6 separate regions of the Homo sapiens genome follow, and regions 1, 2, 3, 4 and 5 are each linked to region 6. The links are contacts of gene promoters, found by promoter capture Hi-C in blood cells and fetal thymus (Javierre and others, 2016). All regions are on one chromosome and are shown on one strand. The core of a region is centred on a gene start or on the middle of the fragment in contact, and the rest is flanking DNA. Distances in the headings are between cores, read along the strand shown.

What was found. The method cuts DNA at HindIII sites, captures the fragments that hold promoters and counts their contacts. A CHiCAGO score of 5 or more calls a contact.
Region 1: a fragment that was not itself captured here is called in contact with the fragment with the promoter of TPMT in region 6 in 2 of 17 cell types (non-activated CD4 T cells and naive CD4 T cells); the score reaches 8.7 in non-activated CD4 T cells.
Region 2: a fragment that was not itself captured here is called in contact with the fragment with the promoter of TPMT in region 6 in 1 of 17 cell types (non-activated CD4 T cells); the score reaches 9.2 in non-activated CD4 T cells.
Region 3: a contact is called between a fragment that was not itself captured here and the fragment with the promoter of TPMT in region 6, in 1 of 17 cell types (total CD4 T cells). The highest score is 6.3, in total CD4 T cells.
Region 4: a contact is called between the fragment with the promoter of C6orf52 here and the fragment with the promoter of TPMT in region 6, in 2 of 17 cell types (activated CD4 T cells and naive CD8 T cells). The highest score is 5.5, in activated CD4 T cells.
Region 5: the fragment with the promoter of SMIM13 here is called in contact with the fragment with the promoter of TPMT in region 6 in 5 of 17 cell types (naive CD8 T cells, fetal thymus, total CD4 T cells and 2 more); the score reaches 11.0 in naive CD8 T cells.

What each region holds. Positions count from the first base shown.
Region 1 is chr6:11,533,996-11,536,695 of GRCh38, reverse strand. No RefSeq gene overlaps it. Among named protein-coding and RNA genes, the nearest start is that of TMEM170B, 2.4 kb to the left of the region's middle. The HindIII fragment of the contact is 342 bases long and covers 1,131-1,472 here.
Region 2 is chr6:11,230,187-11,232,886 of GRCh38, reverse strand. NEDD9 (neural precursor cell expressed, developmentally down-regulated 9) reads left to right here and starts at 219. Exons shown (of 7, transcript NM_006403.4): 1 at 219-383. The coding sequence starts at 372. LOC124901256 (a long non-coding RNA gene) reads left to right here and starts at 2,177. Exons shown (of 2, transcript XR_007059449.1): 1 at 2,177-2,448. RefSeq lists silencers at 132-181, 662-711. The HindIII fragment of the contact is 462 bases long and covers 1,053-1,514 here.
Region 3 is chr6:10,741,009-10,743,708 of GRCh38, reverse strand. TMEM14B-DT (TMEM14B divergent transcript) reads left to right here. Exons shown (of 2, transcript NR_187231.1): 2 at 1-385. Among named protein-coding and RNA genes, the nearest start is that of TMEM14B-DT, 5.2 kb to the left of the region's middle. The HindIII fragment of the contact is 1,800 bases long and covers 418-2,217 here.
Region 4 is chr6:10,693,309-10,696,008 of GRCh38, reverse strand. It overlaps C6orf52 (chromosome 6 open reading frame 52), which reads left to right and starts at 1,393. Exons shown (of 5, transcript NM_001145020.3): 1 at 1,393-1,515. PAK1IP1 (PAK1 interacting protein 1) reads right to left here and starts at 1,037. Exons shown (of 10, transcript NM_017906.3): 1 at 940-1,037. The coding sequence starts at 1,023. RefSeq lists enhancers at 1,010-1,389, 819-1,421, 1,430-1,479. The HindIII fragment of the contact is 16,030 bases long and covers 1-2,700 here.
Region 5 is chr6:11,092,401-11,095,100 of GRCh38, reverse strand. It overlaps SMIM13 (small integral membrane protein 13), which reads right to left and starts at 1,267. Exons shown (of 2, transcript NM_001135575.2): 1 at 712-1,267. The coding sequence starts at 787. RefSeq lists enhancers at 578-697, 578-1,119, 1,368-1,577, 1,120-1,660 and a silencer at 798-1,107. The HindIII fragment of the contact is 2,504 bases long and covers 1-1,904 here.
Region 6 is chr6:18,153,795-18,156,494 of GRCh38, reverse strand. It overlaps TPMT (thiopurine S-methyltransferase), which reads left to right and starts at 1,418. Exons shown (of 9, transcript NM_000367.5): 1 at 1,418-1,462. KDM1B (lysine demethylase 1B) reads right to left here and starts at 1,073. Exons shown (of 22, transcript NM_001364614.2): 1 at 924-1,073; 2 at 569-612. RefSeq lists an enhancer at 133-372 and a silencer at 813-1,372. The HindIII fragment of the contact is 1,618 bases long and covers 533-2,150 here.

The DNA.
Region 1 (2,700 bases), core at 52-2,551, 6.6 Mb after region 6:
AATATGCAGTAGCCAGCCCCTCCCCCCACCTTTTTTCAACCCCTCTGCCATCTGGATAAAGAAAAATTTACAAAGAGAAGTGAAGAAATACCTGCTGTAGCTAAATCATGAAGTATATTTGACAAAGCACTGAAGGGTCAAATTACCTGTCAAATGGTGCTCTTGGTGACCACTTTAAAATAATATTTACATACACATTTATTTCTTTGTTTATTTGTATTTTCTTTTTGATGTCACAACATAAGAGAAATTTTTGCACCATTAATAGGAATTGAGCCAAAACTCTTAATGTAGAGTTTATCTTCCTCCTAGAATTTAGACTTAATTAGATCTATTAACAAGATTACAGAATATCAAACCTAAAAGAGCGCTTTAACATTTTTCTAATTTTATTTTACAGATAGGGAAACAGATTCTGTGAATTAAGTGACTTGACAGAGATGACAGCACTTCACAGCTCAGTTTCTGAATTCCTGGTCTATTATTCTTTCTAGCAACCACATTATCTTTCTTAACCCACTGTTAACTCCCTCACTTTAAGATTCTTGATGGGGAAGTGCAGGTTACCTAATGATATTCTTAAGGGACTTGGCATTACATAATTAGTGATGTTAGGGAATGTGACCACATTCAGTGAAGGGTTCACAGCAAACTCCCTGAGCAGGGGCTCATTAAACTCTCATATCAGAAACCTTTAGTTAGTTTACGTTCTTAGGATTGCACACTATTATTTAAAACACAGTAGCACGCAGTGAAAATATTCAGAACCTGGGACAGTGCCTGGCACCTGCACCACAAATATTTGTTGAATGAATCACTGAATGATCTTCATAGAAAAGTCAGCATTGTTCTTGTTCTGAATAAATATTTTTTACAGAATCCAAGTGTTCATGTCAGGAAATGAGAAAGACACAGCAATGAAGTCTCAAGTCAGTAATGTTATTTGCTGCCCAACAACTTCACCCCTGCTGTTCAGTTCAATTTAATTGGCGTCTATATTTATTTGGCATCTACTATCTGTAATGTTCTGTGCAAGGTGTTATCTGTAACATTTGAAGATAAGATCTCTACTCTCTAGGCTACTTAGGTTTTCCTTGATAAAAGTAATGATCTTGACTGTGTTGGAAGCTTATATCCTTAAGAGAATTAGACATTTTCCCAACAGCCAGAGTTATGAAACCCAAAACTGAGTTAATACAAATGAAAGTTTTGGAATTTCTTTCCTACAGATTTTTTATTTTGAATTAATACACCAATTCAGGAAGAGTTTAGTCACGTTCCTGTCAGAAATCAGGGACCACCCCAAGTGAATCCAAAAATTTCCTTTCAACTCTGTGCCCTTCAGCATGAAACAATTCACAAACGTAATTCATAAACCAAAATTCCTGGTTTATTTCTCTCATGTAAGTGAGGGAACACCCATTAGCCTTAGTCATTTTTAAAACTGTCCAGAGACAACCTAGAGGAAAGCTTTTTAAAATCAATTAAAATATAAAATGATATTGATCTTTTGAGAAAAACATTTTCAGGTATCTTTTCAGAAGCACCCCACTCTACTGGTATCAACTTAACGTATTAGTCCATTTTCACGCTGCAGATAAAGACATACCCAAAACTGGGCAATTTATAAAGGAAGAGGTTTAATTGGACTTACAGTTCCATGTGACTGGGGAAGCCTCACAATCATGGTGGAAGGCAAGGAGGAGCAAGTCCCGTCTTACATGGGTGGCAGCAGGCAACGAGAGAATGAGGAAGACGCAAAAGTGGAGACCCTTGATAAAACCATACAGAGCCAAATTATATCATTCCTCCCCTGGTCCCTGCCAACTCTCATGTCCTCACATTTCAAAATCAATCATGCCTTCCCAACAGTTCCCCAAGGTCTTAACTCATTTCAGCATCAACTCAATAGTCCACAGTCCAAAGTCTCATCTGAAACAAGGCTAGTCCCTTCCGCCTATAAGCCTGTAAAATCAAAAGCAAGTTAGTTACTTCCTAGATACAATGGGGGTACACGCATTGGATAAATACAGCCATTCCGAATGGGAGACATTGGCCACAACAAAGGAGCTACAGGCCCCATGCAAGTCCAAAATCTAGACTGATTCAGCTTGATTCAGCTCAGTCCAGCTCCACAGGTCTTCTCATTTCATACCTGAGGCTGAGGAAGATGTCACGCTCTGAGTACATGCCATTCTCATGGTATAGGGCTGGAACCAGGGCTACAATGGGACACTGGCCTTGCCTGCAAAGCCTTGCCTGCAAGTCTTGACAACAGACTCTGAAACACTCTGTTATCAAGATAAATAATATACTAATATAATATTTTTAAAAATAAAAATTCATGCAAAAATCCATGATTAATGAAATACCAAAATTTTAAATAAACACAGAATCTCACCCTGCACTTGCAAGACCTTGTCTCACCCACCTCATCCTTATCCCAGCTCTGGCATGGACAAGAGAGGCAGGGCTAAACTACACAGGTGCATTTAAAGTTCATGCTCAGATATGGGGTCCATGTCACATGCATGTCACATATCCACATTCCCTTGTTTGAAGCAGATTGCATAGTTAAGCCCCTAAGTGAATGGGATAAAAAAGTATATTCTGCCTACAGAGAAGGATGGAAAGAATGAATGGGAGGGGGCAACAAATGGTAATGAACAAATAATGCAGTCTTAACACAGGCTGAGTGAG
Region 2 (2,700 bases), core at 34-2,533, 6.9 Mb after region 6:
GGGAGGACAGAGTAAGGTTCAGGACGGTTCCCCACTTTCTGTTTTATTTTCCACCGTCTGATAAAGCAAAAAGAAGCGATCACATTACAAGTTCTTTGTCAGTTTTTCAGAATTAGGGGTGGGCAGGGCCTGAGCATTACCTTGTCCCACTAGCCAATGGCGGGGCGGCATGCAAATGAGGTCCGCGATCAGCCTGCCTCAGTCACAACAGTGAGCTCAGAGACTTGAGGGAGGCGCTGCGACTGACAAGCGGCTCTGCCCGGGACCTTCTCGCTTTCATCTAGCGCTGCACTCAATGGAGGGGCGGGCACCGCAGTGCTTAATGCTGTCTTAACTAGTGTAGGAAAACGGCTCAACCCACCGCTGCCGAAATGAAGTATAAGGTAAGAGAGTGCCTTTTACAGGTTACCTTGCAAGCTGAAAGCTGTGCCTGCGGGTGTGTGCTTGTGTATGCGTGTTCCTTACTGTCAGTCCCTTGTGTGTCCCGGAGAGTTCTAAGATGAGTCTCGGTCACTGAGGTTGACATGCAAGCAGACAAGCAAGCAGAGACCCGGTCTTTGAGACCCACTCCAGGGGTTCACAGTACACCCGAGTCCATCTGCTCTGAAAGTTGCCGGGGAAATACCTCGGTGAGAAGTTAAGACTTGGAGCCGCTTCACAGCAGCCACTGGAGATCAGAGGGTGTCTGACTTGAATCGCGGCAGGCATTGGCTCAAGTCTCCTTGGCTTCCCCAGGCCTGGCTTCCACTGCCCTGGGGAACTGTAATGAGAGGAATGAGGACTGCATAGTCTGTCTCAGACTGGCTCTTAGTGCAAAGTTTTCCAGACTTTGCTTTAATCGTTTGGTCTCGGAAGGAGTATGCCATATGCACTTTTGGTGGGAGAAATTAAAAGCCCAGATTACACAGCTGAGGATGGAAAATTTTGACATCCTTATGTTATATTGGATGTAGGAATAAATAAGTATGAGCCATTTCTTGAAAACATTTTTATTGGAGTTTGAATGGGGTGAGAGTGCGAAGGCTCAGGCTGGCTCATTGTGCCTGAAAGCTTACAGAGTGTCATAGTCATAGTACTTCAGCAGCATTATTTTCCAATGCATTTTACACCATTGTTTGTGGATTTTTCTTGCCAAAAGGATTTTTGACTTGCTCCGTATATTCCCCCCTCCCCTTTTTCTTTTAAGTCACTCCCATCTAAGGAGGCAAGCAGCTTCCAGGGGACACAAAGAAAGCAGACTGCAATGAATTGGACATGAATTTTTCTTGAATGATGAATAGACATGAGTGCTAGTGCTACTATTTTATTTTATGCTATTTTAAACAAAAGTGTTATTATTAAGATGGATTTGGGCAAGGGTGCTAGGCTTGTGGATTGACAATTTATATTAACTGTACACTAGCTGGAAGCTACTTCGCTTTTTTTCTAAATTTTTCTGGTCCATCCTTTTTTGATGTAAGGTTGTAAATACTTGGTCTAACTGATAGCCACTGACTAGCCTCAGTAATAAAGCTTTTGTTCAAAAACTATGAATCTTATTCAAAAGCTTTAAGTCTAAATGTCAAAAGTCTTTATAGTAATGCCTACGTTACCACTGTCTGAAGACACAGGTATCAGCTATTTCTGTTTCATCAGCTTTCTATTATCTTCATCAGTAGGGAAGATCAGAGGAAAGGGTCATCCTGAAGACTATTAATATTTGACTTTAGGATGCAACCAGAAACAAATCCCTCTACTTGGCAGGAAAGTTATCTTCCTTAAAGTGGCTCACCCCATATTTCCTTATTTAGAACAATGATAGGACCAGATATTACTCAGCCTGGAGTGACTTTTTTGCTCCTCCTTTCCCTGTTGTTGAATAAGAACTGGCTTGCAGAAAAAAGAGAAAGTATGTTCATATGTCTATTATTGGAAAGTATAAATGGCTGAAATTAACATTGAGTGCTATAATCTAGAAAGTGACGAAAGCGACAAAGTCTCAAGTCACTTTTATTCAATGATCTCATCGTGGTTAGCTTTACTCTTTATGGAAAGAAAATCTAAAGGCAACTGATAAAGTGACTGACAGCGTAAACTGCGATTGGCATTCATGGAGAAACCTGCTTCTCCACTGGGCCTTACTGGTGTTGAACACCTTGCCAAATGATGTAAATACATGATTTTTATTACCTTGTAGGCACCTTCACCAGCAAAAAAGCTAACTTCTCCGACCGAACACATGACTTATGCCCTATGATGACTATTAAATCAACCAATAGCTGAAGAAATCCACTTTCCTTTTTTATAAAGTTTTCTTTCTCTCTAGTTAATAATGAACAACTTTACTTCAGGAAAGGATTTTGTTATTGTAAGTAGAGGAGAGACACAAAAGTAATGAAGTAACATTAATTGAGACTTACTGTGACAACACAAGATTGTCATATTCAACTCTCCCAATAGCTCTACAAGGTGGGTATTATTTTTATACTCAATTTCAAATGACACAGAGAGGCTAAGTAATTTATCTAATGCCACACAGCTAGAAAGTGGTGAGCTGGGATTAGAACTAAGGCGATCTGGCTCCAGAACTCATGACTTTAACCACTATTAAGAGAAAGAGAAAGAGCTATCGTTGACCTCTCTAAAATATGGCCAGTGTTTTCTTCTCCCAGAAAGTTTAAGACTATTTCATCCCAAGTATTCCTGCAGGATAATTTCTTT
Region 3 (2,700 bases), core at 68-2,567, 7.4 Mb after region 6:
GAGACTCAAAGAGGCAAGGTGCCCCACGCCAATGACACAAACTTGCTCTGTCCGAGATGCAGGTACAAGCAAGCCTAGCAAAGAGCTGAGCTTTGCCTGTTGGCCTGTGGAGCAACCATGGGTTTTACTGTGTTTCTTGGACAGAGGACACTTGGGGACAGAAGTGAATAGCATGACTATTTCATGCTTATGTATATTTTATGCACTGTATTTAGTGCCTCTTGGACATTTAATGTATCAAATATTTCATGCTCAGGTGTCTCATGTATACTTGGTAGCTAGGAATGTTAGGTATCCTGGACTTTCTATTCCTTTCTGTGTCTAACACATGTTCTACTTACTACTTAACACATCTAATAAAATCTGCCTATGTTTTAAAAACTAAGATTTATCTATACTTAACTTGTACTAAAAGCTTTCCCCTGTATTTCACAAACATATTAATCTTCCTTAAAAGTATTGAATACTCCCAAAAACAAATGTATATTCCAACTTTTTATTTTCAAATGCCACATTAAAAAAACACCCTCTGGCTGGGCGCAGTGGCTCATGTCTGTAATCCCAATATTTTGGGAGGCCAAGGCAAGCAGATCACTTGAGGTCAGGAGTTCGAAACCAGCCTGACCAACATGATGAAACCCAGTCTCTACAAAAAAAATAAGATTAGCTGGGTGTGATGGTGGATGCCTGTAGTCACAGCTACTCAGGAGGCTGAGGCAGGAGGATTGCTTGAGCCCAGGAGTTCAAAGCTGCAGGAAGCTATAATCATGCCACTGCAAAAGGTGACAGAGACCCCGTGTCTTAAAATAGACTTAAGCCAGTTTAAGCCTTTCAGTTAAATGTCCCATGAAGAATTCTGTTTTGAGACTGAGTGTTGCTCTGTCACCCACGCTGGAGTGCAGTGGCGCGATCTTAGCTCACGGAAACCTCTGCCTCCCGGGTTGAGCGATTCTCCTGCTTCAGCCTCCCAAGTAGCTGGGATTACAGGCACATGCCACCATGCCCTACTAATTTTCTTATTTTTACTAGAGACAGGTGTTTCAGCATATTGCCCAGGCTGTTCTCAAACTCCTGACTTCGTGATCCACCTACCTCAGCCTTCCAAAGTACTGGGATTACAGGCGTTAAGCCACAGCTCCCGGCCCCCACCAAGAATTTTAAACAGCTGATACGAATGTGTCCAAATATTGGTTCCTTCCGGTGGGTTCTTGGTCTCGCTGACTTCAGGAATGAAGCCACGGACCCTCACGGTGTTTACAGTTCTTAAAAATAGTGTGTCCACAGTCTGTTCCTTCAGCTGTTTGGATGTGTCTGGAATTTCTTCTTTCCGCTGGGTTCAGTGACCTGCACAGGCCTCAGGAGTGAAGCCACAGACCTTCGCCGTTGACTGTTAACAGCTCTTAAAGGTGGTGCATCCAGAGCTGTTCATTCCTCCCCTGTGGGTTCATGGTCCCGCTGGCTTCAGAAGTGAAGCTGCAGACTTTCGCAGTCAGTGTTATATAGCTCATAAAGGCGGAACGTCCACAGTTGTTCATTCCTCCCTGTGGGCTCATGGTCTTGCTGGCTTCAGGAGTGAAGCTGCAGACCTTTGCAATGAGTGTTACAGCTCTTAAAGATGGCACCTCCAGAGTTGTTCGTTCCTCCCAATGGGCTTGTCATTTACGCTAGTGTCAGGAGTGAACCTGCAGACTTTTACAGTGAGTGTTACAGCTCATAAAGGCAGTGAGGACCCAAACAGTAACCAGCAGTAACAGCAGTAAGATTTATTGCAAAGTGCAAAGGAAGAAAACTGCAACAGCATGGAACAGGACTGATAGGAGAGTTGCCACTGCTGGCTCGGGTGGCCTGCTTTTGGCCCCTTATTTGGCCCCACCCACATCCTGCTGATTGGTCCATTTTACAGAGTGCTGATTGGTCCGTTTTACAGAGTGCTGATTGGTGCGTTTACAATCCTTTAGGTAGACACAAAAGTTCTCCAAGTCCCCACCTGATTAGCTAGACACAGAGTGCTGACTGGTGCGTTTGCAAACCTTTAGCTAAACACAGAGTGCTGATTAGTGTGTTTATAATCCTTTAGCTAGACAGAAAAGTTCTCCAAGTCCCCACCCGACCCAGAAGCCCAGTCGGCTTCACCTCTCAGGAATATCTGCATTATACTCAACTTTGCTGTAATATGCATTCCCTAGGAACTGAGTAGAATTAAATAACATGGAAGCTTCATCAAGTCGCTTTTTTTTTTTTTTTTTTTGAGACAGAGTCTCACTCTTGCCCAGGCTGGAGTGCAGTGGCATCATCTCGGCCCACTGCAACCTCTGCCTCCCGGGTTCAAGTAATTCTCCTGCCTCAGCCTCCCAAGCAGCTGGGATTACAGGCGCCAGCAACCACACCCGGCTCATTTTTTTATCTTTAGTAGACACCGGGTTTCACCGTGTTGACCAGGCTGGTCTTGAATTCCTGACCTCAGGTGATCCACCTCCCTCTGCCCCCCAAAGTGCTGGGATTATAGGTGTGAGCCACCGCACCCAGCCTCAAGTAACTTCATTATCATAAGGTGATCCTACATTGATTCTAGGGAGAATGGCATAAGAGGAATTACATTTGTATCCATTTTTATTCCATCTAAAAATCATATTCAGAAACTTGCTTTTCTGGGATGATAGAGTAGACGTACTTTCCTCTCTCACTAAGTGCAACTAAAAA
Region 4 (2,700 bases), core at 144-2,643, 7.5 Mb after region 6:
TGTGTCTGGAACACAGTTAAGTAATTTCACTACAAAAAAAAAAAATTAAATAGCATCATCTTTGACTATTCAAAACACATCACTTTTCAGCCAAAGACAAAGAGCAAATAACTGGAGTAGGAAACAAAATAAACGAAAGCAATAGGCCAAGTGATATACTTCCAAATTTTCTGGATAATTAAAGACCGACGCCTTGACTTCATAAAGAAGTACTGTACTCAATTTTCTAGAAAATGCTTAGAATTGCTTCAAGAATAAAAGTGAGCTAGATGTTAGGAGGTCGGATTCCTAGTCGTGAGTATAGTCCTATCTACCTATTTGACTACTGATAATTTATTTGACCTTTTTATCTATTCACACATCTAGTAATATCATATTCTGCTGTAATTTCTCTCCATCTATGCGTCTCCTCAGTCCTCCACCCCTTATGTAGGCAACGTCTCTAAGGCAAGATCCATACCTCCAGCATCTTTGCATCTCCACCGCCCAGCTCGCCATAAGTTCCCAACAAATAATGAATTGGTATCGCTTTACCTATAAGGGATTTATCCTAATCTAGTTCTAGTAATTTGTAAAATTCCAGGGCAGAAATTCAGCAAAAGAGCGAGATCTTCTTTCATTAAATTCTGAATACTGTCAACTTATGGGATCGATCCTTAAATCCACAATCTACGACTCATTTGTCCGTATGCAGAAATGCCGGTTTCCTTTGTGTCCCGTGGACCTTTTGTCTACTAGAAAAGGCAGATATTGCCTCATTTTGATAAAATGTCCATTCTACGGTTTAAAAGGTTAGCTTTTCTCTTAAGTCTCTTAGGTTTGATTCATCAAATCATCCAGTGAACAGCAGGCGCTCCAATGTTCACCTCTGCTGTGTAGGAACCAAACCCGACCTTCCCGGCCCCGCCTCCGACTGTCTCTAACTACGCGGTATCTCACCTCGTGGTCGCCGCAAGCCTCGGGCTCCGGGTGTACAGCGAACCCAAAGAGGACCTGCTCGTAGCAACCAGCGACCAGCTCCATTCAGCAGCGCACGTGCCTCTTCCGCCAGCCCGGCTCAGCCTGGAGGTGACAGAACCGGAAACCAAAAAAAAAAAAAAAAAAACACCTGACTCCTTTCTGCATCGGCGCTCGAATTATACGTCAGGCTCCAGGGCTGCCTTTAAGTCGCCTGTAACGTGGAAACACTTTAAGCGCGGGGAGGTCACATGGATTTTCCAAGAAGAGAATAAGTAAAGATGCCACATGAGGAGGTTCTCACTGCAAGGAGAAAAAAATCGGGGGCAAGCAGGCATATCTCAGGAAGGTGCCAGCTACGCCCGTCTGAAGGGAGCGGGCGGGACATCCTCTGCGAAGCCCTTCATTTCCGTGACATCAGGAGGAGGTGGGGCCGACTTCCGGCCGGTTGCTTAGGGGCTGTAGCGCCGGCAGCGTGCATTGTTGTGGGCTGTGTACTAGTAGGGTAGGAGTTTTTGTTCAGGGACCAGCGGAACGAGGCTTTCTGTCGTTAATAGGGTAAGGAGGGGTGGGATTAGGGTTCGCGGTGACTTGTTCCAGCGGCGCAGCGCTCGCGCTGCCTTGACGGACTCGGAGTGCTAGATGTGTCCGCGTTCCCGTCTGCCCGGGCCAGAACCCCAGCCCTGCACACTTTCTCTGTCTGCTTGTCTAACTCTGGGGCTGTATTGGCCAAGGTTGCGGCACCTCCTGGGGAGGGAGCAGTGAGCCTTCATTTTTTTTTTTTTTTTTTTGAGACGGAGTTTCGCTCTTTTTGCCCAGGCTGGAGTCCGGTGGCGCGATTTCGGCTCACCGCAACCTCTGCCTCCCGGGTTCAAGCAATTCTCCTGCCTCAGCCTCCCGAGTAGCTGGGATTACAGGCATACGCCACCACGCCTGGCTAATTTTGTATTTTTTAGTAGAGACAGGGTTTCTCCATGTTGGCTAGGCTGGTTTTGAACTCCCGACCGCAGGTGATCCGCTTGCCTCGACCTCCCAAAGTTGCTGGGATTGCAGGCGTGAGCCACAGCGCCCGGCCAGAGCCTTCATTTGAGAGTTGGGAAAACAAAGTGAGCCTGAGCAACATATTTTGATGCCGTCTCTACAAAAATGTTATAAATTAGCCCAGCATGGCGACGCCCGCCTGTGGCCTCAGCAACTCGGAAGGCTGAGGTGGGAGGATTGCTTGAGCCCAGGAGGTCGAGGCTGCAGTGAGCCGAGATCGCTCCACTGCATTCCAGTCTGGGGGACGAGCCAGGCCCCCTTTCAAAGAAAAAAAAAGTTTTATTTAATAAGGTTTAGAGATTCAGGTATGTCTTAGACATTACAGCTTTCCTACAAGCTCCCAACAGAGTAAATCTTGGTTCGTATAGTTCTCATAAACACCGTAGTAGGTCATTTGGTAAACAAGATGCATAGTCCATCCTTCTCAAATCTTCAGCCTCCATTTCAAGTGCGATACAGTGCTTCAGCGCTTAGACCCTTTTGTTTCCAATAACTTTTCTTCTCTGGTGTTCTGAATTGTTAGTACGTGTTAATAGAGGCTAGTTTGGGTCTTGCAGAAATGATTTCATTTGGGATGCTTTGGTTGTCACTGCAGTGCAGAAAAGACCTTGTTATTGTTAGAAATAGATAATTGGTGACACGAAGAAAAGTCAGCATGGAGACAAAAGATCTCTCAGCAAGGCAATTTTTACTTTATGCAGA
Region 5 (2,700 bases), core at 18-2,517, 7.1 Mb after region 6:
AAGAGACCTGTGGTTATCAGCTACTATACATGTACAAAGAAATCAAAAAGATCTAAAATTGGGCTACCATTATTTGAAGAAAAAAGTTGAACGTCCTCTCATTCCAAGAAGGAAAATACGCACAGCATTCGAAATAGCACCATTATTATAGAACTGAGAGTTAGGTTACCCGACCCTGCAAGTTTAATATAGCCGGTGTTTCTAAGCTCTGCCTGGTCTCCACATCTCTGCTTGGAATTGAGTTTAAGGCTGAACTCTAAGTAAACAATTTCACGCGTGCTGAAAACCCAACTCTACCCCACTCGCTGATGAAACGAAGGTGACACCTCTCATTATTAAGGTCAGAATCTGTGCAAATGAAAAAGGACCAATCAATCACTTCACCTTCGAATGCAGGCCAAGGTTACAATCTGGGCAGCCTGTGGTGAGAATGAAAGAGCAGACGCTGCCGGTGAAGCAAGGCTGAGTTTCACTCAGAGGCAGGAAGCCCTGGAGCCTGTCCTTTCCCTCCCCAGGATGCCCGAGGGCCGGCCATGAGTAAAGGGCCCACCTCTGCGCTCAGCCCTAGAGGCTAAGGGACAACAGTTGATTTTAAGACAATTGTCCGTCCACGCCCTTTTGTTTTTTTCAAAAAAACAAACAACAAAAAAAACCCCAGCAGATCAGCGACCCGGCGTGTGGAACTGCCTCGCGGCTACCGCCCCCACTCACCGCACACCATCAGCAGCAGGACGATCAGCAGCGTGGCCACGAACACAAGCAGAGTCAGCCCGACGCTGTGCCACATCTTGGGGGCAGAAGGGCAGTCGGCTCGGGGCGGCTGGCGCGGACGGCGGTGAGCGCGGGCGGCGGCGCGTCCTGCGCTTCAGCGGCGGGCGCCAGGCGCGGCTGGGCGCCGGGGCGGCATGGGCGGCTGGCGCCCCCTCGGCAGCGCCCCCAGGGGGTGGGGCGGCGCAAAGGCGGGCACTGTGGGACCGCCCGCCCGCCCGATCCTTTTCCCGCCGGGGTGGCCAGAGCGCGGGAGGCAGGCGGGCCTCAGGGCGCCTCTAGTCCCTCATCGCCCCGGAGAGCCGAGGCCGCGGCACCCAGAGACCCCAGCGGTCGGATGCGCTTCCATGGCGGACGCCGCGCGCCTGTAGGGAGGACAGAGGGTAAGCACGGGTACACACGGCGGCCACAAGGCCCTCGTCGCTGTCCACCCGTGTCTCTGAGACCCCAGGGATGCCAGATGTCAGCGTCGCCCGGCCGCGGCTGTAGCGGCTTCTCCGCCCCAGGCCCCCTACCGCTGGGGCAGCTCATCACCAAGCTCGCCTCCTCCGCGGCGCGGGGTCGGCTGGGAGATGGAGTGCAGAGCCTGGTGGAGTCGGGACGGCGTTGTCTCGCAGGGACTACAACTCCCAGAATGCACCGCCACTCGGGCTTCGCTGCTTTCATTCTCGGGCGGCTCTGCCTTTGGTCTTGCTCAAGTCGCCTCAGTCGGACGACCGTGGGCTGGCCTTCTCCAAAGCCGCGGATCTGGCTGCCCGTCCTGCTGAGGCGCCAGTGAGATTTCAACCATTACTCCGTATACAAAGTCGTTTTGTTTCTAGCCGTAATCGATGAAGTACGGCGAGAGAGGAAAGAGGAGGCGGCTGCCTGAAAAACTGGTTGCTCGTGCACCTAGCCCTGTTGCCGGGGGCGAAGGTTGGCTATTTGGGACTTGGAGGAAGAACTCAGGTCCCTGCCGCAGACGCGGGTCAGGACACGAAATCTCATTTTCCCCCTGCAACAGATGTTATGTTCTATCTTTTCGTAAGTAAAGCATTTCAGAAATGGCCCGCGGGTGACTTAAGGACAGCTGCACTGCCCTCAAATCACCTGCCTGAGTTGTAAGTTAGACCCAGCTGCCTCCTTGAGACCAAGCTTGGAGATTTTGCCGCACTGGCTTACACCTCTACGAAACAAGACACTGTAGTAATCTCAACTACTGTATCTCCACCCAAAATTGAAACTCCCCACTTCCGCCAGATTACATTCATTTGTTAAAGAGGTGCCCCCAGAAGAATAGAGGGTAAATGTGTCCCTCTTTTAGAAGGAATCAGAGCCTTCGAGTTTTCCTGTGATTCTTTTGCTCCCTGAGATACCTTTTTACTCTTCTAAAAATTACAGTTTCCTGTCTTCTGTCTCCAAAAACAAACACAAAAGTTCTAAGCAGCAATCCCTTGATTTAATAAATGTATCCTGCCATACCCAGCTGCCCTACTATGTGAACTGTATTCCCTAAGAAGCAACATTAGGAACAAATACCATGTATAAAAATACATTAAAGGATAATTACTTGCTTTGCAACAGATTTAATATAGATTCCTGTGAAGAGAATGAACCCAGTGCAATTAAGATATATTTACAAAAAATCAGTGTGTGCTTTTTTCATGGGTGGTTCAATTATGTTGCATAATTAAAACACATTTTATTAAAAGCCAGTTGAAAATACGCGTCAGGGCTAGGCGAGGTGGCTCACGCCTGTAATCCCAGCACTTTGGGAGGCTAAGGCGAGCAGATCACCTGAAGTCAGGAGTTCGAGACCAGCCTGGCCAACATGGTGAAACCCTGTCTCTACTAAAAATACAAAAATTAGCCGGGGGTAGTGGTGGGCGCCTGTAATTCCAGCTACTCAGGAGGCTGAGGCAGGAGAATCGCTTGAACCCAGGAGGCCAAGGT
Region 6 (2,700 bases), core at 169-2,668:
CCACTAAAATAGATTTAAAAACACAAAACAAAACTGGTCAAAGCCTTGAGTTATGTGTGTATACGTGGTGTGGGGGATTCCCCAACTGGAGTGGACTGGGGAGTCCTGCAGGCTTACCCAAGGGAAGACTGGACTTCTATGTGGCTGGTTTCCACATCACTGAACCCCAACTTTCTACAGCTGGGTCGGCCTCTTCCTTCCTCTTTCACCTGTCAGCTGCCCGGCCGTTGACTAACAGCTACCCTAATCGGGCCACCCCTCCTCCAGGTCTCCAATCCCAGAGGAGTTACCCCAGCAACCTGGCAATGCTCATCAAGTCTCAACGCGTGGTGGCTGTGCCAGAGAATTACTACAACACCTGCAAGGCTGTGCGGGCTCCTGGCCGCACCCTATCGGCCGGGAAGAACAAGCGAGGGAGTTCCTACTCCAGGACCGTGGGGTTCTCCCGCGGCTCTGACAGTCCCCAGGAGGGAGCCCCAAACTCCCGGTGCCAGCTGCAGCCGCCTCGCTTTCCGAGAAGCTTTCGGAAGCTTTTCGAAGTCGGAGAAGCAACTGCCCCGGGGCTCACCTTTGCGCTGAAGAGGTGCCGGGAGTCTCGGGGAAAAGGCACCGCTGTACAGAAAGGAAACATTGTAGGGGGGTTAGCCGACCGGCAACATCGCGACGAACCCGGCGACCCCACGCCCCAACACCCTAGCCCGGGAATTCCCCCTTCTTCAGACAGATACCCACCCCGCACCCTCTTTTAATCCGGGGCAGGAGGTATCCGTCCCTGGGGCACCCGCCCACCTCCCACCACGGCGAGGGGCGCTGCACAGGGGGAAAGGGAGGGCTTGCACCCCAACCAAGCTGCTTTGTGCAACGCTGTCACCCGAAATCCGCCACGGCCCCCACGCACGCCCCCGGAGTGGGGAGCCTCCCACCTCTGAGCGCCAGCGAGGCGGTGCGCGCCGCCCTGGACTGCGGGCGCCTCTCCGGAGCCGCGCGCCGCGCGCACAGGACGGCTGCAGCCGCGCCGCGAGCCCCAGCCTCTTCTCGGCCGCCGCCGCCGCCGCCGCTTCCGCCCCTGTCACGGCGTGACCCGGGGTGGGAGGAGCCGACAGGACTAGGGATGGGTAGGGTCCCCGCCTTCGCTTTAGCCGCAGCGCTCGCTCCGCCCTGCCCATTTCCGCCGCTGCGCAAACCCCGGCGCTTGGGGAAGTGGGTGGAGTCTGTGCAACGAGGTACGGGGCGGGAGTGGAGACGGGGCGCCGGGAGAGGGGGCGGGAACTGAGGCGGGGCGCGGGAAAGAGGCGGGGCGCGGGAAAGAGGCGGGGCGCGGGCGGAGGCGGGGCGCGGGCGGAGGCGGGGCGCGGGCGGAGGCGGGGCGCGGAGAAGTGGCGGAGGTGGAAGCGGAGGCGTACCCGCCCCTGGGGACGTCATTGGTGGCGGAGGCAATGGCCGGCAACCAGCTGTAAGCGAGGTAGGCTCACTCGGGCGCGGAGGGTGCGGGTGAGAAAGGGAACGATTTGCTAGGAGTGTATGCGCCCGTGCTAGGGCTCCCAGGAATTCTTACAAGCGTAGACAGCCTAGCAATCAGCCCTGTGAAGTGGGGTTCAGGGCAGAAGCGGAAACTGGGAATAACGAGGTCGGACAGTAAATGACCTGAATCCAATGTCCAGGATTTAAAGTGCTTCCAAAGCACTGGTGTGTTTTAATTATTTTTTTTTCTTTTTTCTTTTAGAGACAGGGTCTCCCTCTGTCGCCCATGCTAGCGTGCAGTGGCACAATCATAGCTCACTGTAACCTGGAACTCCTGGGCTCAAGTGATCTTCCCGCCCCAGCCTCCTCGGTAACTGGGACTACAGGCTCGCTGCACCACGCTTGGCTAATTTTTCAAATTTTTTTTTATAGAAACGGACTCTCGGTTTTTTCCCCAGCCTGGTGTATTAGTGATTTTTGGGAAAAAATAAGTACTGCCAAATAGTGAGTGATCCCTGGTGATGTGGGAAACTGGGGTGCTGTAAATATTCTGTCTTGCTCTGCGGTGGTTACACAGGTGTATGTATATGTAAAAAATTCACCGAGTCATACTCTTTTAAGATGTGTGCACCTTAGGAAAGTTTCTTCTCAATTTTATGAAATTTAAAAACAAAACTATAGCAGAAGCTTTTGAAAAGGTGAGAATGGAGACTAGAACAACTTGAGGACTTTGTTTGTGGGCAGAAATTTTTGTGAAATTTCCCTTCCTTAATTCTTGTAATGTGCACTTTTTTTGTATTATAGAAATAAACTTTATTTCTCTAGAAATGATGTATACAAGTGGAGTCCATGCTGAGAAACTGTTAGAACAGCTAAGACGTTGAGCCCAGGAGTTTGAGACCAGCCTGGGTAACATAGCAAGACCCTGTCTCTACAAAATATTTAAAAATTAGCCAGGCATGGTGGTGCACCCTTATAGTCCCAGGTACTCAGGAGGTTGAAGTGAGAGGATCGCTTGAGCCCCAGTGTTGGAGACGGAAGTGTCATTACACCACTGCACTCCAGCCTGGGGGATAGAGAGAGACCCTGTCTCAAAAACAAACAACTAAGACATGATTAAGTTATGTGCATGATTTTGTTAGACAGTTCAAGTTTGTGTGAAAGGAATAGAGTTGTGCTACTCCAGGCTGCTGTGGAACTCTGATAAAGATTATGCTTCTCTTTTAAGTAGAGAACTGC